4 separate regions of the Homo sapiens genome follow, and all the other regions are linked to region 2. The links are contacts of gene promoters, found by promoter capture Hi-C in blood cells and fetal thymus (Javierre and others, 2016). All regions are on one chromosome and are shown on one strand. Each heading gives the region's core, a stretch centred on a gene start or on the middle of the fragment in contact. The rest is flanking DNA. Distances are from core to core; before and after follow the strand shown. Region 1 overlaps RNF145 (ring finger protein 145). Region 2 holds the start of FAM200C (family with sequence similarity 200 member C). Region 3 overlaps RNF145 (ring finger protein 145). Region 4 overlaps EBF1 (EBF transcription factor 1).

What was found. Contacts are between HindIII fragments. The CHiCAGO score rates a contact against its expected background, and 5 or more counts as called.
Region 1: a fragment that was not itself captured here is called in contact with the fragment with the promoter of FAM200C in region 2 in 1 of 17 cell types (total CD4 T cells); the score reaches 6.1 in total CD4 T cells.
Region 3: a contact is called between a fragment that was not itself captured here and the fragment with the promoter of FAM200C in region 2, in 2 of 17 cell types (total CD4 T cells and fetal thymus). The highest score is 7.5, in total CD4 T cells.
Region 4: a contact is called between a fragment that was not itself captured here and the fragment with the promoter of FAM200C in region 2, in 2 of 17 cell types (total CD8 T cells and total CD4 T cells). The highest score is 5.9, in total CD8 T cells.

Annotation. Positions count from the first base shown.
Region 1 is chr5:159,174,877-159,181,362 of GRCh38, reverse strand. RNF145 (ring finger protein 145) reads left to right here. Exons shown (of 11, transcript NM_001199383.2): 5 at 4,496-4,731. Among named protein-coding and RNA genes, the nearest start is that of RNF145, 31 kb to the left of the region's middle. The HindIII fragment of the contact is 1,873 bases long and covers 3,758-5,630 here.
Region 2 is chr5:160,395,712-160,402,367 of GRCh38, reverse strand. FAM200C (family with sequence similarity 200 member C) reads left to right here and starts at 2,314. Exons shown (of 2, transcript NM_022090.5): 1 at 2,314-2,729. SLU7 (spliceosome associated SLU7) reads left to right here. Exons shown (of 16, transcript NM_006425.5): 16 at 1-727. RefSeq lists enhancers at 2,625-2,774, 2,668-3,353, 3,673-4,172. The HindIII fragment of the contact is 7,568 bases long and covers 1-6,656 here.
Region 3 is chr5:159,158,395-159,164,870 of GRCh38, reverse strand. RNF145 (ring finger protein 145) reads left to right here. Exons shown (of 11, transcript NM_001199383.2): 9 at 1,792-1,939; 10 at 3,249-3,605; 11 at 5,836-6,476. The coding sequence ends at 6,201. Among named protein-coding and RNA genes, the nearest start is that of RNF145, 48 kb to the left of the region's middle. RefSeq lists an enhancer at 2,540-3,739. The HindIII fragment of the contact is 4,917 bases long and covers 2,768-6,476 here.
Region 4 is chr5:159,088,360-159,094,482 of GRCh38, reverse strand. The region is part of intron 4 of EBF1 (EBF transcription factor 1); the gene reads left to right. Among named protein-coding and RNA genes, the nearest start is that of EBF1, 8.5 kb to the left of the region's middle. RefSeq lists an enhancer at 2,577-3,706. The HindIII fragment of the contact is 192 bases long and covers 1,177-1,368 here.

The sequences.
Region 1 (6,486 bases), core at 3,445-5,944, 1.2 Mb after region 2:
AATATTAGAGATTAGAGGAGGATTTCTTCAGAGAGAACTCTTTTTTTCTGAAATACTTCCCCAGCCCTTTACACTAGAGGATTCACTGGGGGACCATTTGGGGAGTTATGTGTCTTGTGTGGTGAAGGGGGGAATGCTGTGGACTGGTGTCTGACTCACCCTGGAACATCTTTTTTTTTTGAGTTACACTTTTATTTTTATTTTCTTACATTAAAAAACTTTTTTTTTTTTTTTGAGACAGAGTCTTGCTCTGTCGCCCAGGCTGGGAAAACATTTTTTAGATAAGTTTCTGGGGGAACACATGGTGTTTGGTTACATGGACAAGCTCTTTAGCAGTGATTTCTGATATTTTGGTGCATCCGTCGCCTGAGGAGTGTATGCTGTACCCAATGTGCAGTCTTTTATCCTTCACCCACCTCTCACCTTTCCAGGAGGCCAGAATTCCACTATATCATTCTTGTGCCTTTTCAGCCTGCAAAATCTAAAACTACATTGTCCAAAACTAGCCACATGTGGCTGGTTAGCACTTGCAGTGTGGTGAATTGAGATTAAGGTGTGCTGTATGTGTAAAGCACATACTCAATTTTGAAGACTTGGTACAAACCAGGTTAACTTTTAATACATCTTGTTAACTTTTAATATAGATTGAATGTCTATATGATGATGTTTAGGATATGTTAGGTTATATAAAATATATTGTTGATTTCACTTGTTTCTTTTTACTTTTTGAAATGACACTAATAGAAAATTTAAAATTATATTTGGCTTACATTATAATTCTAATCTGATATAAAGGACTAGCAATAGACTAGTTGCTTGTTGAGTGTTTTGACTGTGGAATGAAAATGCCTTATAGGGTTTTCCTGTATCTTCTGATACAGGAAATTGTAGAGCAAAGGATGTAAGTTTCTTGTGAACTAGACAGTGGCCCCGAAAGTCTGTGTAGGATTTTCTTGGGTCCTGTTCAAGAAGGCCTTTTAGATGGATGAGAAGACCTCAACAGGGATTGACCTTCCAGATTCCCAGGAGCTGAGAAAAGAGCCAAAAATGGCCAGTTGAGGGTGTATACCAAGCACCAAGGGTACTGCTGCAGGTGAGAGAGCCACAGTGATAGGAACGGTTTCAGAAGAACCCATAAAAGGGTCCAGGGGAAAATAAATCAGTTTTAGATACCTCAAGTCTAGGAAGCACCAGTAACAACCACATCATTGTAAGAGTCCAGTTAAGTAGGAACCTGCCTACTTCCCTCCCTCTCCTTCTTCCCTACCCACTTCAATCCTTGGTAAGTCAGAGAGAGAGGGAGAAGTGCTAGGTCAAAAAAGAGAAAGAAGCCAGCCACAACCTCCCCACCTTCTCTCCCACTTGCAGGTTTTCTATCTTAAAGCATAAAGGTAAAAATTAATGCTTTCCCTAGAATGCCTGAACTCTAGAGTAAGGGATAAGTCTCAACTTTAAATCTGTTTGAAAGTTTCAGTTATTATTAAATTGAGACAGTAACCTAAGCTAGAGTAGAAAAGTTATGGGACTTGCCTTGGATTTTATCTAGGGGCAGGAAAACCACTAATCTCTACAGAGTGGATTTTAAAAGACAGCAGAGGACAAAAATAATGTTGCTTTATGACTATCGTTATGAGTTGGCATATTTATTAACGGTAACATTCAATAATGAAGATATTTGCCAAGTTAGAAAGCTTGTAAAGTTTTAGTTTATGATGCATATACTTGTATTATAAATATGAAGCATATTTCTTAAAACTCTTCTTATCAGTGGCCATGGTCTTCTGTTTACTTAACTAAGATTCAACTTTCCAAAGTCCATAAACTATTAAGGAGCATGTTTTCTTCCAACTTAGATTTTAAAATAATTTTCTGGTGTTTTTCTTCATTTCAGTAACAAACTTTTTTGAAAAACTAGGTAATTTTAATATGCCATGATTTCTTAGGGTTGCCAACCTCTTGGAGATATTTCTAATAGTGGAATCCTGAAATCTAAAGAGTACATTGGGATTTTGGTTTATGCAGAGTTAAAAGTTGAAATAGGCAAATCAGAAGACAAACAACTTATTCTTTTGGAACTTCAGGGGAAATTCCACTAACAATATGACTCCTTCCTTCTTTTACGTCAGCAGGAGTAGTCTTCTCTTAAATACGCCATATGAGTCATATTCTTCTATGAAAGAAGATAAAGGGAGCCTGTAACCCCAGCACTGAGCACCACATGTGCTGGCATAGACTTAAGGGAATTTTCAGAGCTTAGAGGAAGTTTACATTGTGCTCAACAAGGACATTTAAATTTCATAGCTATAAACACAGTGAAAGCCAGATCATTTGGTGGCCTCTTGTTTTCTATATAATTAGGAGTTTTTCTTTTCTTTATGCCTTTATGATTATTTTTCACATTACTTTAGTATCAGTTTTTTAAAGGCCAAAATTAATGCTTTGTGAGATAAAATACCGTATGTGTTTATGACATAGTAGATTGTTGTAAGTGTTTGGTCTTATGTAAAAATGGTTGACATTTTTGTATTTTTCTAACACAAATTGAATTTTCCTTATTCAAAATGCTTGGCACCAGAAGTGTTTTGGATTTCTGATTTTTTTACATTTTGGAATATCTGCATTATATTACTGTTTGGAAATCCTTAATCCCAAAATCTGAAATCCAAAATACTCCAATAAGCATTTTCTTGGAGCATAATGTTAGATTTTAGGGCATTTTGGATTTTAGATTTTTGGATTAGGAATATTCAACATGTATATGGATAGAATACAAACAAGTCCCAAATTTTCATTTTGGTTTTCATTGACAAGAAGTGAGAGAATATGATTAATTATTCTAAATTAATCTGGAAAATAACATTCAGTAATCTCCAAGAAATTCTGAAAGGAGCAATGAGAGAGGACTTGTCCAATCAGTATGATGGAGCAGGGTGGTACCATCATTAGAATAGATCACTGAAAACAAAAAGTAACAAGTTCTTATATAGACCTAAATATGTAAAAGATTTTGGAGTTTACTACAGTGGCATTTCAAATTAATGAGAAAGGAATGGATGATTCCAGTAGCCAGTTTTGAGATAACCAGCTAAACATGTACAAAAAACAAACTTCGATCTTTATTTTCTTATTCCACAATAAATCAAATGTATTAATTTTTAAGTTAAAATTAAAAATTAGCTAAAAATTACTAAAAGAAAATACAGCTATTTGTATAATCTTGAGTGGGGTAGCCATGTAATAAGCCATGGCACTAAAGGTGGGTACTATTAAGAAAAAAAATGGTTTGACTATTTTCAATACATACTTTTATAAGAGAATAAAGTTATTTAAAATATTAAGACAAGGGACATATTAGAAAAATGCAATCATGTGACTAAGGATTACTATTTCGATCAGGCAGTAGGATACGTATTCTAGCAGAAAAATGGGCAAAGAATGTGAACATTTCACCAAATAATTGCAAATGTTTTCATATACTTATTGATAATGTTCAGTGCTGTTAGTAACCAACAAAATGCCAATTTAAAAAATTTGGGAAATATTCCCTGTTCTTCCCATCTCTAAATTATACTCACTATGGCAAGTTAATAGAAAAATAGCCACATTATACACTGGTAAATTGTTGCTGGAGGGCAGTCTTGACAGTGTGTCAAAGTCTTTAAAAATGTTTTTTTCTGATTCAGTAATTCCTAGCCTAAGAGAATATTAGGAAATGTGTTCCAAGTAGTTTATACAAGGATGTCATAATGTAAAAGCTTATTCATACAAAGCATTTTATAATTATGGAATATTTGGAAAGGGCTAAATGCAAATATCATGTCACATACATTCAGTGTACCCCAGGGTGTTCTTAGGACTACCTTTGGGTTGTGGGATTATAAGAGACTGAGAGTTTCCCATTTTGTTCTTTGTATTTCTGTGTTTAATGTAATGATCATGCGTAATCCCCAGTGAGAAGAATTTATTTAGTTTTTAGTTTTAACTTATGATTTAGTTATTTGGGGCAGTTTACTTGGCCCTCCAAAAATAAAGATTAAAAAATTATCAGAACAAATATTGTTGCAGTATGATCTTGAACAAGTAATTATATCTCTTGGATTTTATGCTTTCACCTATAGACCAGAACAGTTAAATATTGCGTACCTTTGGAAAAGAAGTTATGTATAAACATTAGCAACTGAATTGTCACAATACTGAATTAGACATTGTTTAAAGTTTTCTTCATATTACACATGGCATCACAGACGACCAGTGGAGATTTATGCTGCTCTTTCCAGATCAGCCCTACAGAATTAGTATTCAAAATTCACAGAACATGTGAATATGTAATTATAGTCAGATGAAGTTTAAGTTTGATTTAAAATATTATCTACGAGATTTTAGTTAGACTTCTTCAAAAGTTGTGTTATTATCCTTATCAACAGTGTTTTTTGTTTGTTTTTATTTTGTGGATGCCAAATACTCAAAATTAAATGTATTCTATTCCCTATTTTAGGTCAGTTGGTGGTGTGTACTTTATGCTCCTGTGTCATGAAAACAAAGCAGATTTGGCTGTTTTCAGCTCACATGCTTCCTCTGCTAGCACGACTCTGCCTTGTTCCTTTGGAGACAATTGTTATCATCAATAAATTTGCTATGATTTTTACTGGATTGGAAGTTCTCTATTTTCTTGGGTCTAATCTTTTGGTACCTTATAACCTTGCTAAATCTGCATACAGAGAATTGGTTCAGGTAAGACTGCTGACAACCACAAACAGGTAGATAAAATTCTACATAAATGTTAAGTACATTAAAGTTATAGTTCATTTTTATTTCACAGTTATGGTACCATTCATTTTTGCAGTTTCAAAACAGCTGCTATTTTCAGCCCAATTAGGAGCATCTGAAAGATTCTTGATTATGTTCTATTGAGAAGGCAGTAAAGTGAAGTGGTTCTCTTAAAGCAGATTTATCTGAGATCGAACCCTGATGCTGCTGTTCACTAGCTGTGTAACCTTGTGATAATTGCGTTACTTTCTGTAAAACGGAGCTAATAATGAAAGCTGTGCTTTCCTCATAGAGTTCTGTGAGATTTAAATGAGTTTAGTACCAGGCAGACAATGTTCCATATGTGTTAGCTATTGTAATGAAGACAAAAATAATAAAGAATTGAATACCTATAAGTCAAATCCTGCTTTTTCCTTCTGATTATAGTCCTACTGTGACTATAGTTTCTTCCCTTTGTGTGCCTAATTTAAACAGAAAAGTTAAATAGTTCTGGGTTATAATATGATAGATTTCATTTAGATATAGTACTTGAATTGACTTTGCCAACATAACATGCTTTTTGTAAAAGTTTCTTCCCTACTTTTTTCAGCCTTTGCTCTAAGATAAATTACTCCCAGATACAAACAATACACATTTGGGAAATAAATGTTTCTGTTTGGTTTAATTGATAGTTTGTAATATATAAAATAGATTTTAACCTGACATTGGTATAAAAAGAGAGTGTTAAAATGTCACTGTCTTCCACCTCTTGACTGTGTCCTTAAGGTACAGGAAGCTCTCAGATAGAACAAACTGATAACAGCTAAGTGAAGTATTCTCTTGTGGCCCCAGGGGCAGATCTTTGAGAATACTTTCTCTAAGCTTTTGGCCTTAGCCTGATTCTATCTTCGTCTTACACAGTGATTAACTTGGGCAGTTTTCCCAGGAGTAGATCTTCCAGAAAAGGGATTATTTCTACAGTCAGTGAAGAGTGGCTTCATGGGGAAGCAGGGCAGGAAGGGTTATAGTTGTATTCAGGGTAATAATGACAAATTTAAGATACATATTTTTTCTTTGAATTCAGTCTTATGAGGGTTATCTTTGTTTGTAATAAATAATGAATATTCAGTAAATACTTATTGAATATTAAATATTTATTGAATAACCTCAGCCTTCATTTTTTAATGTCATGTTTAGTTGGTTGCCATAAGATTCATACATCAACTAGATGTAGTTGTTGGAAATATAGGTTATAAAATGCGTGACCAGGAAAGAATCAGATAAGCAAGAAATGGAAACAGACAGGTTTTTTTAGTGGTCTGTTTCTTGAATGGAAAGGAAGAAAAATATTCTCTGCCTCGTAATGATGAGTTTACCTGATAATAATTTTGCAGCTAGTTGGGCAGTTTCCTTTTTCTTTTAATCTTTTGTCACTGGGGAAAATAGAAGTTAATAGACTGGGTTGTAGAAAAAGCCTTTGCTTTACTGATGAAAGAATTTTAAATTTAGAATAATCTGCAAGTCAATTTATTTTAACTTAATACTTAAAGATGTTTATACCTTATTGAAACATTCTGGTATCACATTGAGAGATTCCAGCAAGACCAGCTGACTGCTAGATACTGGTTTTGTAAGCTGTCCAGCAGAATTCCTGCTGTGTCACCAGGGTCTGGTCCCTGACATAGTAACTCTAGAAACTTGGTTACACCTATGCTCTTAGATTGAATCAGATTCTGTGAT
Region 2 (6,656 bases), core at 1,065-3,564:
CTATTTTCTCATCATTGGGTCAATATTGACTGATCAGTAGTAGGTCTTTTACCATTCTGGACATAAGTCTAGGTGTAGAAATCCTTTCCTTTATCATAGAGGATATGGTTTACATTACCGTTTGTTTTCATTGTGATTGCCCCTATGTAACAATCATGAATATTAGATTTTTTAAATTGTAGAATATCCTAATATTTATAGCCAGCAGCTGTTACTTTGTTTGTAAAATTTGCAAAAAAACAAAACCTGAAGTTGGTTTATTGAAAGAATTATAAGGATAGCTTCTAGGGATATTAGTAATAGATTGCCATGATCCTGAAGCCTCTTCTCAGAACACTGTGAAGATAATACTGACAGTAGAATCAGTGAAAACAGCCTAACAAAACCTCTGACATCAGTATATCAACTTTTAACAGCCCACTCACTGGCTTTTCTAAACTACCAAAAACCACCTGTAGGATACTGCATTAAGTCAGCATCTCAGAAACAGTGGTGTGAGTAACTGAGTCAAATTGTCAAGTACTTTGGATATACATAGTGTCGAGCTTTAGATTGGTATGAAATTAAACAGCAATGCAAATAGATTTAATTCCTATTTACTTTAAGAATGAAAAACAATGTTCATTTTCCTACCTAAACAGGGTGGTTCAACATAAAGGCTGATGTTGTGTCCGTTTTGTATTTTATCTTTTGTTAAAGATACATAAATGACAATACTTAACTGTGAGTGGTTTGTAGCATTATTTCTAATATTTGGCAGAAAAGTTGTTTATGGGACAGGGAGGGGAACCTGGATTAGCTTCTGTGAGTTTAAGAAAATTTCAGCATCTTGTCACCTAACCTTTCTGGACCTCTTTCCCTCTTCTATGAGGCCTGGTTTACTTAGATTTAGGAAGAATTCTGTAATATCCAGAATCATGTCTTCTGTTTTATTTTGGAAAAGTAATGCCTAGCCAGCCTGGCCAACATAGCAGAGCCCTGTCTCTATGAAAAATACGAAAATTAGCTGGGCATGGTGGCACACGCCTATAATCCCAGCTACTCAGGAGGCTGAGGCATGAGAATTGCTTGAACCCGGTTCAAGAAGTTACAGTGAGCTGAGATTGCGCCACTGCTCTCCAGCCTGGGCAACAGAATGAGACCCTGTCTCAAAAAAAAAAAAAAAAAAAAAAGAAAAAAACATAATGCCTAGGACATTACTCAGATTGAGCTTTGATTTTATTATCTCAATAATAGCTGCCTTTTGAGTGCGAGAATTATGTACTGTAATTGTCATAATGTTATCTCCTTCCTCAAAAGAATTTCATGGGGTAATGGATGATATGTAAGTTTTACAAAAAGCACATGGAATTAACTCCAAGTAACCTGCACAAATCCTAACCGTTGGAGTCAGGACATGAAGCTAGCTGTGGGATTCTGAAGCCTACCCCTTTCTCTAGTATTGAAGGCCCTAATTTCTTGACCAACAAGGCTGGTCTTTAGCAGTTTCTTCCATCCACAAAAAACTTCAGCAGCCCGTCAATATTTACCAGGCTCACCCTTAACACCTGAAAATGATGTATCTGGCCCACATTCGTTGACGCCCCACCACTCCTCACACACACTAGTCTTATGGAATGCTTCTAACAAGATTGTACAAAAATGAGTAAACTCATTAAGTTTATAAGAATTCTGGAAAGACCCCCAAACAGGAAAGGGCTATATTCCGGTTTCTTTCAACAACGTTTCCTAGTTTCTACTTGGGATTTTTCTCTAAAACCTCTCTAATATGGGTTTATTTCTTTGAAATCATGTTGTTGAAAGAATTTAAAATAAAAATATTTCAGATATATGATGATGACATGGAAATTCATCCCTATGCTCCCACTTACGGAAAGTGGGATCAGCTTGCATAGGCAACAGTACACAAGCTATGGAAGCTCATCCTCCACTGCTGAAATGTCTAATCTGAAATTACAATGAGCTTCCTTCTCTTTTTCTCTCATTTATTCCACATGGAACATGGCAATTATCAGGCGTTTTATCTCCAAGCTCAAAGCCCGACACAATATAAAAGTTTAAGTGCTCTGCATGTTAAAAAGAACTATGTGGAGTTTACAGCCCCTTCCATTCCTGAAATTGTACAGTTCATCCTCTCTGGCAGACACAATAAACAAACGATTTCTTGTTCCACGTACACAATCTTAAAAAAAAAATTGGGAAGGGCTAGCGCGCATGCTCAATACTCAAGCCAGCCAGCCCATCCCACAGCCCTTTGCTACTGCGCCTGCGTGTGGGAGACGCCTCTCCCAGTTTGCGGGCGGGAAGCACCCTGGAGAACCCGGATGGAACCCGGGCCTGGCTGAGGCGGAGGTTGTTGCGGATGCTTCTCTCTCCAGGCGCACCGCAGATTCCTGCCCGGGGGTTGGACCCGAGGAACCGCCGTCTCTACTGGTTCCGACGGCCAGAGGCTGGGCCCTAGGCTGAGCGGAGAGTGGGACTGGAGCCTGAAACGGGCGCCTAAAAGAAGCCCGTGCATCCCATAGGCCTGCGCCTCAGGCTTGGAGACGGGCGGGCGGAGACCGCGCTGAGTCTTTTTTTTTTTTTTCCTAGCAGCTGGCGTTCTTATCTCACCCGGGAGGCTGTAAAAATCTCCGTCCTTAACAGTAACACCATCAGGTCCTATCAGTTAAGAGCTGCTTGTTATTTGCATGCATTCTTATAATTAAATCTCCTAACAACCCTGTAAGGTAGGTACTGTTATCCCCTCTGGAGGAACTGAGGCTTGGAAAGGTCCCATCCTGTAAGTGACAAAGCCACGATCCCAGGCGTTTGCCCCTGGAGCGTCTGCCCAGCCACCAAGTTCCTGCCCCCATTCTCCTGGCTATTGATTTTAACTGTAAAATGTAATGGTTAAATGCTCTGCCTCCCCAGACACCTGCGCCTATCATGATCTTGCATACGCAGTGGCTAGAAAGAAGTTGAATTGTATTTGGTTTGGAGTTTTAGGTTTACAGCTGCACTTTGGTGTTTTCACTGCTGGAATATATATATATTAGCATTCCCTAAATATTTGTTTTGTGAGTGTTCACTTTTAACTGATTTTTCTCATTTGTAATACTTTTTCATATCTACCCTTCATAAACTTGCAAAAACATTTTACTTTGTTATATCAGATCTTTCATTAAGCATCTGAAGATAATCTCTCAAAAGAATCATGCTTAAAATGAGTGATATCTATCTTAAGATAATGCTTTTTATCTTTTTATTATGGAAAGTTTCCAAAATACATTAAAATAGAACGGTGTAATGATGTATACCCATCATCCAGCTTCAAGAGTTACCAACTTAAGGCCAGTCATTTCTTTTATCTCCACCCCGCTTTGTGCATGTTTGTGAGTGTGCTGAAGTACGTATTTCAAAGGAATCCCAGACATCTTATTTCACTTGTAAATAATTGTCTGTATCTAACAAATGAGGACTTTTTAAAAACACAACCACAATACCATTATCATGCCTGTTTAACAATATCTCCTTATCATGATGCTTTTTAATGTTTACGTTTTTTAGGATATTGTAATTCCTAAATACCACAAAAGCGCAAGTGCAAATTGTGAGGTTCTAAAACACAAGCCTCTTGGGCAGTAAGTTCATCTTTGAGGCCCTTGAAAATTCTTGCCACCTGTTCTCCCTTTTTGAGGGTTATGGAGAAGAATACTTTAAATTGATTTTCCTAAAACTGTTCAAAACAGATAAATTTTAAATTAAAATATACTTGAGAGACATAGTCAAGGTGGATAGGAATGGACTCTTAACAGATCTTGTAATGATTTCCAGTTTGTTTTGTTTTTGAGACAGAGTCTCACTCCGTCACCCAGTCTGGAGAGCGCAGTGGCATCATCTCGGCTCACTGCAACCTCTGCCTCCCAGATCAAGCGATTCTCCTGCATCAGCCTCTCCAGTAGCTGGGATCACCATGCACAGCTAATTTTTGTATTTTTAGTAGAGACGAGGTTTCGCCAAGTTGGCAGGGCCAGTCTCAAACTCCTGACCTCAGGTGATCCGCCTTCCTCGGCCTCCCAAAGTGCTGGGATTATGGACATGAGCCACCGTACCCAGCCTTTTTTTGAGACAGAGTCTGGCTGTGTCACCCAGGCTGGAGTGCAGTGGCGTGATCTCAGCTCACTGCAATGATCTCAGCTCACAGCAACCTCTGCCCCCTGGGTTCAAGCGATTCTCCTGCCTCAGCCTCCCGAGTAGATGGGACTACAGGCATGCGCCACCACACCCAGCTAATTTTTGTATTTTTAGTAGAGACAGAGTTTCACTATGTTGGCCTGGCTGGTCTGGAACTCCTGACCTCAAGTGATCTGCCCGCCTTGGCTTCCCAAAGTGCTGGGGTAGCAGGCGTGAGCCACCGTGCAGGGCCCCTCTTGTAATGATTTCTAATGTGACTAAAAACATTTTCCTTTATTCCCTCTTCCTCCCCAAATATTACATGATAAATATACATTAATAGAATACAGAAAAATAAGCATTTATGGTAATGTCATAATTTTATCGTCATTAATTAGAAGTGGTTCTAAGCAAAAGTGGTCATGTAGTCTCATTACTTGACAAAAGAAGTCTTAAGATCAGCTCTTTAAACTTCAGGTTGTCTTTTTTGATTGGCAGACATCCTCCAATTTAACAGGCTCATAACAACCTTGTAACAGCTCAGCTTATTTTATTGGAGTACACTTTACAACTAGTTCATCTTGGTAGATCCACTTGAAAGCTAATGCTTTAAGTGGATATTCTTGGCTTGTGATTTTTCTTTTAATGTCCAAAGTGGGCATTCAGATTTAAATGTGTACCTGTTACTTTATTTCAGCCACATTCTCTGGCACAGAACTTTGGAAACTTTGGGGATCACTTACTTATCTTGGAGATAGAATGTTTTCTAAGGTATATTTGAGCCTACCTGTGGATTATGCCTTTACTCGTTGCTAAAGGGAGAGAAAGAGAAAAGATATGGCTTTCATTTTAGGTTTCAACTTTCATAGGAGGCTGTCATCAACTCAGAAAATGTAGAAAATTTAAATATCTATTAAAGCATTGGGACCATTCACTTAGAAACCTAGAATATTTGTTAGCTAAGGATTGGTTTGAAGGATACGTTTTTATTCCCCTAAGCCTGACTACTTAACCAGGTTGTGTTTCAGGACTGCCTGAACAACATTATTTCATATTCTTTTGTTCTGCTTCTGGAGAAGATATGTATTAGTTCTAAGGTAGTGCAGGGACGTGTATATTTTGAAAGGGTTTCCCAGTGATTGTGATGATATGGTGTCTCTTGTCACAGATCACTGTTCTAGTTACTATTTATAAGAATTATCTAAAATACTTACAATACAGATTCTAGGCCCCCACTCCATAGCTGGAGAATCAGAATCTCTATGGGTAGGGCCTTCTACATCCTGTCTTTGGGTTAAACCAAACCTTAGGAATGCTGCTTATTTTGTGTATGTGCATGTGTGTGTTCTTGACTGCTTTCCCTTAGAGGTATTTAGGTGGAAAAGCATCATGAAATTCGTTATTTTACTTAAGAGTGTTCTCCTATGAGAGGGATTTTTCTGAAGTCTCGGTAACAAGAATAGTTGTGTTTCCCCTGAGCAAGTTGTTTTGCTTTTTTTTTTTTTTTTTTTTTTCCACAGAGACTTGCTCTGTCGCCCAGGCTGGAGTGCAGTGGCATGATCTTGGCTTAGTAGCTGGGACTACAGGCGTATGCCACCATGCCCAGCTAATTTTTTGTATTTTTAGTAGAGATGGGGTTTCACCATATTGCCCAGGCTGGTCTCGAACTCCTGAGCTCAGGCAGTCCACCCACCTCAGCCTCCTAAAGTGCTGGGATTACAGGCATGAGCTACCACGCCCGACCATTTTGCTTTTTTATATGGACACTATGAATCATGGACTGATAGTGTGTTACACTTAGCAGCAAGGAAGCTCTGAGCCAATTTGTAGCCTACCTTTGCATCAGGGGTGGCTTAATCAGACTTAAAGACCTATTTGAAATTCTCTGCCTAAGTTGGAGTCAAAACTGCTCAAGGTTCAAATAGTATTACAGACCTGTTTAGTCTTTAACTATTAAAAAGAACTACCATGTTCTCACTCATAAATGGTAGCTAAATAATGTGTACACATGGACGTGGATAATGGAGTGATGGGTAAAGGAGACTTGGAAGGGTGGGGTGGAAGAGTGGGGTGGGAGGGAGTAGATGAGAAATAATGAGTACAATGTATGTTATTTGGGTGACGGATACCCTAAAAACCCTCACTTTGCCACTATGTGGTCTATGCATATAACAAAATTGTGCTTGTACCCCATAAATGTATACAATTATTTTAACCTCCATGTCAGAATCCACCCTTCCTTATTTAGTGAATTGCTCCTTTATTCAGTGATTCTTAACTGAGGGTATGCATACATCTTTGGGGCTGAGTGGAAGAAGGTGGTGGTAGTGAGATGCCCTTTCTAGGGATACAAAATGTGCTAGATTTGTTTGTAACATACATTATTGAAAACAAGTTAAGCCATAACTATAATTCACCAATAAAGGACTTACAGGTGTTCATAACTTGTCTAAGCTCAAATCTCCCATATATAACTTGCTGGCAAATCATTTATTCCAGGG
Region 3 (6,476 bases), core at 3,977-6,476, 1.2 Mb after region 2:
ACGTTTAGCTTAGGAGGATGTGTGAGTTAGTTTTAGCCATAGAAATAATTGGTTATTTTATCTGTAAATTTTATTGCAGTTTTTAACAAGGAATATTAGAACTATGGTCTACTTATTCAAATTATGTAGCAAATTTTCAAAAGGCAAACATTTTAGGAAATGGGTTGTCATTTTTATAGTACTTAACCTATTGCACGAGGTTTCAATGTAATTTTCCCTTATTTTTATATTTTATTTGAAATTTGCTTTTATTTAATTTTAACTATTTAGATAAGGACATATATGTGTGTCTATGTATATGTTTGTGTGTATATATCCACCTGTATTAAAATTAGGCATAAATGTAAAACTCTTGACATAACATTGTTGTATATACATTTCTGTGTGTGTGCTTAAATCTATGCATGTGTGTTTATAAATACGTACATATTTCATATAAATCATAGCTGGCTTGATTTTTAAAAAATATATTTAAGGTTTTAAGGCAGATTGCCCTATTAGATCTATAATTCATCATCTAACACAGTACAGCTACTGCCTTTCTTTAAAAAGTTAAAATTGCTGAATCTCAAAGCAAAGCTACTGACAAGTTTACATTTGTTCCTTAATTTCTGATTATTATTATTATTATTATTAGTTTTTGGCAAGAAAAAATGTAAAACACTTTCCAAAGTATGCAGCTTTAATTTTTACCATAATAATTAACTTTCTTCTCTGAATTACTGATTATAATAGGACCACACTGTATAGCATTTGACCTTGTGTGTGGTAACTTTTACTTCCTGACTATATTATAATTAAAGGTAGGAGAGATGATTTATGTTATTTGTGTCTCTTTGAGATGCTTTACTTGGATTTGAGAACATATCACAGATGTTGATGTTTAATTAAAACAGCTTAAATTTTTTTGTAGCCATGAGCTTTATTTCAATTGAAAGCCAAAGTTGTTTAGCTTGAACTAGCCTAAAGGGTTTAGAGAAATGGAGAGCATGATGGAGGAATTTCTAGTGGGACGTAAGAGTGCTTGTGTTTTGCTGAGAGGGCAGTTAGTTAATAAGCAGCTTGGTTTATGAGGAACAGATTTGACAAGCTTGGATGGAAAAATTAGGAGTGGAGGACCTCAAATGCCAGGCTCAAAAATTTAGAGACAGTGTTGAAAATATTACGATAGTAGAGCTTTAGGAGGATTAGTCTGGCTGGCAGTGTCCTGGATAGATCAGGGCTGGAGGAGGGAGGAAAACCAGGTAGTAGATCTTACAATACAGTTGCTCTCAGTCATGTCTCCCACTTACCCTGACCACAACAGATGTGAGGATGAGTATACCTGCTCATTGGAGAGTCATTCCTATTAGTCACACTGCACTCTCTGTAGCAGAGATTCTCATCACAAGTGGAAACAGTGGGAAGAGGGTGTCATAAGATTTGAAAAAGACCACAAATTATTCTAATACTCCCTCCCTGTCTTAACCAGGAAAAATTATTGAAATTGTTAAGGTTTAAGGCTACAAAAGCCTGAAATAATTTGAAATTGCTAGGAGTAGCAATTGAAAGCAAACTATTGAGGAACAAAAGAAAATCAGCTGTACTTTGCAATTGACTGAGTGTGGTGGCTTTGACATGCCAAGCCTGTGTGACTTGGTCTGAACTCTAGTACAGTGACTGGCATGGAGAAGGGTGTTCAGTGGGAATTTGTGAAATTTGATCATGGCACCAGAGATGTTAGCTGCTGATGTGAGTGGTTGTGCTACTAGGTGGCAGGCACTTAAAAAGAATAATTTTGTCTTTCTCCAGGAGCTTGTGGAAACACTTCCGTGCTGTAAGCCTTTGTTTATTTTTATTGGTATTCCCTGCTTATATGGCTTATATGATTTGCCAGTTTTTCCACATGGATTTTTGGCTTCTTATCATTATTTCCAGCAGCATTCTTACCTCTCTTCAGGTAAGCCTATGATTAATTAACTCTATATAATAACCAATTTTGTTATTTTTCCTCCCAGAGGAGGAATTAAATTTTTTCAAGATGAATGATTATAAGTGGACTATTCAGGTGATAACTTCTCTCTCTCTTTACTAGAACACATTACATTTATTTGAGCACAGGAGTTAGATGGCAGGTTATGAAAATATTACATAAACCGGCCGGGCGCGGTGGCTCACGCCTGTAATCCCAGCACTTTGGGAGGCCGAGGCGGGTGGATCATGAGGTCAGGAGATCGAGACCATCCTGGCTAACAAGGTGAAACCCCGTCTCTACTAAAAATACAAAAAATTAGCCGGGCGCGGTGGCGGGCGCCTGTAGTCCCAGCTACTCGGGAGGCTGAGGCAGGAGAATGGCGTAAACCCGGGAAGCGGAGCTTGCAGTGAGCCGAGATTGCGCCACTGCAGTCCGCAGTCCGGCCTGGGCGACAGAGCGAGACTCCGTCTCAAAAAAAAAAAAAAAAAAAAGAAAATATTACATAAACCTATTGATGTCACTGTATTTTTTATGAAGGTAATTAAGCCTTTCAGTTTCTCTTTTTCAAAATGGTATGATACAGAGGTGTCATATAAATCTTAAATTGACAAGTAACTAAAATATTAAAAGTTTTTAGAGCTTGTGTTAGAGCTTATTTGGAGTGTGTTTTTTAAATTCCACTCAAAAATACCAATAGTTCCACGATGTATATAAATATATATGTATATGATGTGTGTGTATTGCACACATACAGACATGATACATGTTTCACAGACATGCACACACAAAATATTGCCCTAGAAATGATAAGCTTATTGTAACTTAAAGGAAGATCTTTGCTACCTAGGTAAAGGAAAACATAACACAGTGAAGAGTTATTCATTATTTTTTTGCAGAAGTAAAACTTCTTTGCGAGTTGTAGAACAGGAATGACTATGGTATGAGGAAAATTAAGATGGAGTTGATGAGGTTTGGTGACCTAAGGAATAAGGGAAAAAGATGAATCAAAAAATTGATTACTCATCAGAATCATTTTAGGAAAGTCACGTCTGACGGTGTGGCTTTTTGTTTTCTATGCCTGGATTACTAAGATCACCCACATTTTAGTCATCAGTGTCTTCTCTTTAGAGTTGATTTTTTATTTATTAAAACTTTTTTTTCCCCTGGATACTCTTCTGTATATTTGAAATATTGCACCCTAAAAACATCAGGAATGTGTTATTGTTTAAAGCCTATGAAAAAAGTATCTTAGTGATCATATTTCAAGATACGTACATTTTTTTTTTTTTTTCAGGTTCTGGGAACACTTTTTATTTATGTCTTATTTATGGTTGAGGAATTCAGAAAAGAGCCAGTGGAAAACATGGATGATGTCATCTACTATGTGAATGGCACTTACCGCCTGCTGGAGTTTCTTGTGGCCCTCTGTGTGGTGGCCTATGGCGTCTCAGAGACCATCTTTGGAGAATGGACAGTGATGGGCTCAATGATCATCTTCATTCATTCCTACTATAACGTGTGGCTTCGGGCCCAGCTGGGGTGGAAGAGCTTTCTTCTCCGCAGGGATGCTGTGAATAAGATTAAATCGTTACCCATTGCTACGAAAGAGCAGCTTGAGAAACACAATGATATTTGTGCCATCTGTTATCAGGTAACTCCTTCAATAAGAATGTGTTTGGGTAAGTCATACAGTGTATCCCTTGGGACTGTAACCATATTAACCAAATTCAACTTAAATTTCTAGGCAAAATTATCTTCTGGATTAAAAAAAATGGACCTCAGAAATTATATTAAAGACCTGATAAAATATTTCCATTTTATTTCTAAATTAAGTTTTAAATTTAGTCCCTTGGGTTCTAATGTATTGTTGTTTTCAACATTATTGCTCACCCATAAATAAAGGAAAAACAGGTCAGGTGCATTTTATATTTACTCCTGAATACACACTCACACGGACTATTGAATATACTATCCATGAGGGGTCAGCAACTCCTGAAAAGTGGTGTGCCAAAATTCTGACTCTTTTCCCTCTAGTATTTCCAGAGTGGGGAAGAAATATTCATGTACCTAACATAGGTAGAGAGAATATGTGCCCACCTGTGGGTTGCTAAGTATCCGAGGGTACAAGCATTTGGTGGGAGTGGGTGAATATGGTAAAGGCTACCAAACTGATGTAAAATTGAAGTTGGCCTACCTATAGTCTTTAGCACATGCACCATAAAGAGCCTGATGATTGTCTTCTATTACAAATTAAAGGTAGTACTTAAATCACTTTGGAAATAAAACAACAACAAAAAGACCTAGAGTTTAATCATCAATCACCTGTGCAAGAGGCCGCACTGTTGGAAATAATGGACAGAGATGATGGCCAACAGCAGAAACTATGTCCCATTTTTAAAGTCACTCAAAGAGTGTAGGCTGGTAGAATAAAACTATAGATAGTGTCAACAATATACAGGGGATATTCTTACTTCAGGATTGCTTTTGTAGTTTAGGTGGGGTATGTATGTATTTGTGTATATTTAAATTTGTGCATATTTAATTTTTTTCTGATAGTAAAATACAGCTATCAATTTTTTATTTTGATTAGAACATACTTTTTGATCCTAGCTAAACAATGTTCTCCAGGCGGTTTTGCATTTGAGGGGTCTGAGGAGTAATGTAGGGTTCCTGCCTCCCTTCAAAGTAGCCATTCTCTTAGTTGTGTTTATTATTAAAATGAACCCTAGCTCTTTTGTGCTAGGTAGCCTCATTGTACTCAGGACAAAGCACATCAAAAACAGAGTCGGAGCACCTCAGCTTCAGCCGCTGATGTCTGAATATTCCATCTCGGGGATTCAAGAGTCCTGTTTGTATTTCCTGTTGTCACATCACTTTTTTTGAGGTGCTAGAACTACCTGTTGATATCACATCGAAAATGAGAGTAAAACTGCTTAGCTTCCCAGCTGGCTGCTTTTCCTTGGATGGCTTTCTGCTTAAAAGTTGACTCCCAGATGTTACCAGTTCTTGGCAAGGAATTTCTGGGATATCCACACCTGCTTGTTTTGGGACTTGAAACAAAATTAATGGTTGATTCACGAAACGTTATGTCTTTATAACTTTAACTTCATGTCTTCAGGCTTCTCTCTTCATATATATCTTATGCAAGGAATATTAATGCAAAGTACACCACTCCTTATTCCAGTGGTTATCAAATGTGAGTGTATAAAAGTCACACAGGTGGCTTGTAACTATAGATTTTATGAATCCCATCGTTACATATCCCACTTCAGTAGGTCTTGGGTGGCCCAAGACTATGTGTTAACAAGTGGTTCTTATGCAAGTTGAGAAACACTGGCTTATATAGACCAAATCTTGAAAACTGGGTATATACATTGTCCGTAATGAGAGAGTGCCACTTCCTTGCCAATACCCTGGTATTATATGGCCGATTTTGTCTCTTTGCCAATAATTTCATTATAAACTGTTCAGCTGTGTTGAAGCAAAACTGTAGAAAAAGTCCTGTCTTCATCAGATTTTCTGAGGTTGTAATTATACTCTTGTCATACCAGTGGAGACCCAGTAATCATACTGCAACAATTGTGTAACACTTGCATTTCATACTCAGGCAAAACCCAGTTATAAAGGTAGCTTCTTCCTCATTTTTGGTTTTTCCTTCACTTTTAGAAAGTACTTAGCCAGTAGTTCTTGCATTATTTGTATAAGGGGGATCTGTGATGGCAGCAGGATTATTACTGATATATAAAGTAAGTTTTATTCTAAGATCTATGTTACAAATTTTCTATTGTGGGAAAGAGATGTTAGAACCAGAACTTTGGGGATAGCACCAAAGATACTAGAAAACAGACATTTATAAGGTATCTTTTTTCCCCCTCTTTTAGGACATGAAATCTGCTGTGATCACGCCTTGCAGTCATTTTTTCCATGCAGGCTGTCTTAAGAAATGGCTGTATGTCCAGGAGACCTGCCCTCTGTGCCACTGCCATCTGAAAAACTCCTCCCAGCTTCCAGGATTAGGAACTGAGCCAGTTCTACAGCCTCATGCTGGAGCTGAGCAAAACGTCATGTTTCAGGAAGGTACTGAACCCCCAGGCCAGGAGCATACTCCAGGGACCAGGATACAGGAAGGTTCCAGGGACAATAATGAGTACATTGCCAGACGACCAGATAACCAGGAAGGGGCTTTTGACCCCAAAGAATATCCTCACAGTGCGAAAGATGAAGCACATCCTGTTGAATCAGCCTAGAGGAGAAGCAGCAGGAATGATGCTTTGATACTCTGGAGGAGAAGTTAACTCAAGATGGAATTCATGTTCTGATTTGAGGAATGAAAATGAGATGATCAGGCAGGAAACTGACATTCCAAGGATCTAATCCAGGAAGTACTCTCAGTGGGGACCACCTGCTTTCATCCCCTGACATTGTGGGAGAAATTTTGCAATGTATGCTAATCAAAATGTATTTATATGTTCTCTGCTGATGTTTTATAGAGGTTTGTGAAGAAAATTCAACCTCAGCAACT
Region 4 (6,123 bases), core at 23-2,522, 1.3 Mb after region 2:
TAATCTTCAAGAACCAATTTATTAACAGCTATTTTTGATGATCACTTTCATATTTCGATATGACACAAGTAGAAAGCAAGAGTATGAAATCTATTTTTTAAAATAAAAATAAAGATTGAAATATATTTCATGTTATTTGCCTAAAATATTTGGCTTTCTTAAAAATCTGTTTATTTCTCAGTTGATTGCTCAGAGTAAATCACCATTTATAATTTTTGGTCTTGGTTTTATTTTCTTTAATGGATTTAATAATTGCATAGGATAATTCACTTTCATTTGGACACTGTGTTTTTTTTTTTTTTTTTTTTTTTTTTTTTGCCTTCCAAGGCAGAAACACAAAAGCCTGATTTTTAATAACTTTTTTTCTTTTGCGATGTCAAAATAAAAATGTCTTAAGTGGAGTTTTGTTTTCAAAAATTGCCTTTGATACCCTGGATATCCTTTCCTGCCATTCTCATTACAGGAAAAAAAAAAAAAAAAAAGTTGGGAGGGAGAGGGGGAAAGTAGGAACTCTAAGACATACTCTATGTGTATTTATTAGGATTTACTTTCTAAAAGATAAAAGGCACACATACACAAATCAGTACATAAGGCCTGTCTGCTTGTGCAACATTGACCAATGAAATATTAAATTATAGGTAGCACTATGAAATGAACAATTGTAAGAAGCACAGAATTAAGACATGTTTGAAGTGATTAATCGCTCTATGAATTAAACCTCCTCAAAATTTTATTTTAAGTCTCTCTAGTCAAAAAGTGCCACTACTAATTGATTTTCCCATTATGGGATGAACTTACCTTATACTCATATAAAAATGGGGGAGAATCATCTTTTGATATTTTTAAAGCAATACATCAAATATCATTTTACTAACAAGGTCATAGAGCTTAAGAAAAACTGCAGCTTAAGGCATTCTTTGACCACTTGGTGTCATAAATTCTATCAGGAAAGAGGGAGGAAGAGAGAGAGAAAGAGAGAGAGAGGAATAAGAACAAGATTAGTTTTATTTTCGATAATAGCACTTATGAGAAAGTCATTTGCCATAATATGACATCTCAGTAAAAGTCAAAATTATAAATGCATGCAATGATATATTTTGGTGGGGAGTGGCCTGAGAAAAGGTTGAATAATTATCTAAGTCTAAAAAATATCAGGAAAAGGAATATTTCAAAGCTTACCTGTGTGCTTTCATAATAATTGTTTAACCACCTCTCTGTAGCTTTCACTTTGAAAGGCAGTTCCTACTCATTATCCAATTGCTTGTTCTTTGATTATGTGCTGCAAGAGTTTTGGAAGTAGGTTAGCTTCTTGTCTACAGGGTTAATACAATGGCCTCCAAAAAGCAGATAGATGAGCGTGAAGAAGCTTAACTTTCCCTAGGTGTGACATAAAAATAATTGATATTTAGCCTTAATGAGTAAAACAGTTAATTTTCCTCTAGCTTGAAATTATTCTATCATAATTAAATACCAAGTCTGATTTAAAATTTCTTGAATCTTTGATTTTAGTTTAATATACAGTGGCTCCTTAAATCAGATGTAAGTCTTGATATAAACTGATGGATTAAATGATTACATTTTTTTTTCCTGTGAAATTCTTCCTCATACATTATGGATTTTGATAATTATTTAGAGTACAGAATGAAACACTTCTGGTCTGATAAGTTCTGATAACATCATCAATTGTGGAAGGAATACCTAGCCACTGTTCAAGTGTCTTTTCTTAGCTGCCTGTTTATTATAACATTTTTCCTATCAGAGATGCAGCTTTATGTGAGTGATGTCATATTCTTGACTAGAAAGTGGGGTTAAAACTCAAAAGGAATTTTGGACAAGCAAAATTTAAAACTATTTTTGCATTCTACATTTCCATAAACTGTTCTTGATCTTGGGTGGGATTAGCAGCATTGAGATAGAAAAGAAATGTACTCAATCAACCAAGATGTGTTGGTATGACACAGTATTTCACACCTTTTCAAAGTGTCTCATTAGACTATTTTGGGTAATGACTCTTAATTTTTGGACTCTACCAGGAAAGATGAAGCTTCATTAGAAATGAATATATAAGAATCTGAGATCCCTTATCCCTATGCCTTCATTGTAAAGCACACAGGATATAATATTTTAAAAATTCACCCACCAACTAGAAAATAAGAGGCTTGCTTTTGGGAAGGGTTGTTCAAAACCAAGTTTAGCTGGACTAAAAATAGTTTGTTTTCGTGTCATTACTGTTTTTGGTATTCCATTAGTGAGCATGCAGAATGCCCTGTAGGACCCAGAAGTTTATGGCTGCTGCATCCAGAAACAATATCTACTGCAGAAGCTCAAATGAATCCAGTGGGGGAGGTCTGAGGTTTAGTGGGCATCCTTTCAGATTTTCATGTAGTATTTGAAATATGATTACATTCTGTGATTGCTATAGTGAGTTATATATCTTTAAATAGTTTTTTTTAAGTTTAGCTTATCTCCCCTCTTACCATCTTGCTTTAAAAGAGTGATATTTTATAATTCAAAGAAAAGATACCAAATTGTATTAAGTTATCAAAACAAAACACTCTTCCCCTAAACAAAAGCCTGCTTGAGAAGCAGGAAATCGTAGTCACATAATCCTTGTATGTATGGATTTGAAAGTAGATGATGTAGTGAGGAGACCGTGAAAAGGTTCCCAGGACAGTGGGGGGTCCAAGGTACAATCATCAGAAATGCTATCAGGTTTCTCTTCCCAGCTAGACTTCTTGATATATTTGTTTTGATCTTCCCCGTACTTTAAGGTATTGATGCAAGTGTATTTTTTTCCTATTGATTGTTTCATTATATCCTGCCATGGCTACATAGATTTGATTAACAACCCTTTCAGTTCATGGTTCTTCATTGGTAGATAAACACATTTTCAGTATATCAATAAGTTCCCAAGGAATTCACTAGGCCAGCAGAGAGTTTCTTTCATATATTTGGGGAAATAAACAAACAAAAAAGGACACAGCAAGTTTATAGTCAGAGGCCATATTTCAGCAGCTTTCTCTCTCCTTTGGTAACATGTCAAAAATGCAGGTGATTTAAATTTCCTTGCACATAGAGGAATGAAGAAGTTTGGAATTTTTATGCATGATCAGGACCTGTGTTTGGGAAAATGTAAACTCATCACAGTGGAAAATGTGTTGTTTGGAGTCTGGGGGTGAAAACAAAGCTGATGGTTTTGGAGAGATTGCCGGAGCCAGATGGCCTAGTACTTCCCCAGTCTGGCGGGCCAACTGCTCCCTCCTGGATAATATACAGCCATTTGTTCGGGGATATTTACGCTAGAGCTGTTTCCATGTGAATGTTTGAACAGCATTAAAAACGAACATATTAGTAGAGATGCATTTATTGAACTCATATGACTGTACAGATAGTCTGTTCTCTCTGTCTTATATTGCTGAGAGCGATGAAGGAGTGTTTGGACATTGGTGAATTGTCTACATAGTTGTTGAGCAAGAATGATCTGGTTTTAGTGAGCAATTAAAATACATCAATGTTTGGAATCAGACTAATGGAAATAATGTTAGCACCTACCTTGAAGCTCCGTTGTGAGAATTAAATAACTTCATACATGTTAAGAACTTAGAACAGCGACTGGTACAAATTAAGTGCTTAATAAATTAGATGCTTTTATTATTATTATTATTATTATTATTACCCCATTGGGTTGACAAAGCCAATTGTATTTACTAATGTAGGTGTAAATGTAGTTACCATAGGAGTGAAATATCTTTTATTTGTGCTAGAAAAAGAAATACAATATGGGATTGTTAGAGTGATTTAGTTTTTTATGGTGTTTGAATAATATAAGGGGTTTTAGCTCTTTGAGACATAAAAGATGCATTCTAAAGCTAACTGCTTTTGGTACACATTCTCTTTTTATTCAGGGCTGTGATGTAACTGAACAGCACACTGAATCTGATATCATTCCTTCGCAACTTTCCTAATTCACTTCTGAAAACGGGCCTGCTTAGCTGCTGAGCTGAAATTACATCTTTGTAATTTGTTCACCAGTAGCCAAGCTGCTAATTGAAGCAAAATTATTTTTTTATTTTATTCCACTACTAATGTTGGATTGCTGTTTGACACGTTGTTTATGAAATGTCAGATTTGTAGTGTTTCCTTTGGCATGGTTTAATTTTTAACTAGTGTGCCTTCACCTACTGGAAATTTCTAAGACCAGATTAGCTAGCACCTTTTTTTTTTTCTTTCTTTTTTTTTTAATGACAAACAGTAGAAATTGGTGGTTGAATGTAATGATTATTATTATAGTGTGTTGATATTGTAGGTGTGCATATCATTTTTTGATTAGCTCAATTCTTGGTAATTTGCTGCCAAAGGCTTGTTGACAGTTTGCATTCAGAAGACATTTCACTTTTGGTTACAGCAGGTACTTTGTGCATTCATGAACTTATTCTCTTAGGTGACAAAGTAGGTTTGGCTTTTTATTTTGTAAGGGGAAAAAGGAGTAACATATTTTCAAGGTACAGTTTTGATTTAAATAGAAAATTAGAAGTCTTTGTTAGTTACTGATAACCTTTCTTTTCCCTCCCTCCAATCCTTTCTTCCTACCTTCCTCTCTTTTTCTTAATTTCTTTTCCTTCCTTTCCTTTCTTCCTTTTTCTTTTCTTTTCTTCTTTCTTTCTTTCCTTCTTTCTTTCTTTCTTCTTTTCTTTTTTCTTTTTCCTCTTCCTCTTCTTCAACTAATGATGATAAGTTTCCTTTTGTTTGCTTATAAATCAAGAAAGGTTCCTAATGAAAATATTTTGTTTCTAAAAATCCTTTGGATTTTGCTGAACCAAAGTCAAAAGTATTCTCTTCACCGCCTTTATTTTGTCGTGGAACACAAAGAGTTAAAACTATTAGAAAAGTAAACACAGAAAAACCATGTTCAATTCTCTGTATTTCCTTTGGCATCCTATTGAAGTGTGATCCCGGTGTACATTCACTGTGTATTTTTTCATTTTACTGTGTGGTCTTTACCCATAGTAAGTTTCAATTAACTTTTAAGACCTAGCAGTATTTAAGAAAAGCTAGAATGAACTACGCTTCACAGTATGTCTTTCAAAACAGTGGCAACTCAGGCAGGTTTTTGTATATTGATTGATTGGTTGATTTTCAAAGATATTACAGGTTACTTTATAATTGAGCGTTTAGAATTGATGATATTTTATTCATAACAGTGAAATTTCCAGAGATGTTTTTGCATAAGAATATGCAAGTTTAACAATTTCGATGTTTTCTTCTTCTTTTAGTTAATTATTTTAAATATCCTTTAAAAGCCCCTTAATCTGAAGTGAAGAGAGTATCAAAAAATAATATGAGATATTTTCTTTCTACTCATTAGAGTATGACAGCAGAAAAGGTAGGCTAGTATATCACAAAAATAAATCTGTTCCAAATATATCCACTTTTGACAGCTTGTTTGTCAATTTCACCAGGTTTTTAAAGTTGAGATGAGGTTAATGTTGTTTACTATTTAACTCTTCCTCTTATACAAGCATTCCTGTCACCTTAAGGGATTTATTTGCCATTGGCAGGATTAATTTAAACATTGTTTTCTACTTGATATTGCATTTTTGATTCTTAGGTTACAAACCTCAACTTGATTCACTATCAATTGATTTACTTAAATAATATATTTTATATGATTTTTCTCCCCCTCCCACCCATCTATATAGCAGGCATCCCATCTTCACTTCAGATAAACACATTGATTTATTTAAACCAGTGTTGTCTTTGTCCCTCTCACAACAGACAACCTTCCTCATAGTGAGCAGACTCATGATTTACTATGGAGGATGAAAATAAGCCTTCTTCTTGGTGTTTCATTGTCTGGGCCCTAAACCAGCTGTCTATTAAAATGGTTTCACTTAAAATAGCCAATGCTGTTTATATGCTTCTGTGATCTCCCAGCTGATCCAACCCCAACCAGCTTTACTCATACACCACAGAGGCACATATTTAAATTAGGAAGAAACGCAGAAACTTCTCCCGAAGTTGGTGTTAGCAGGATCCCTGTCCTTTGGGGCTTAAAGTCTGGGTTTGCTGAACTGTGGACCAGTGTTGATGTGTATGCTAAATGTAGATGGTAAAATTGATGTA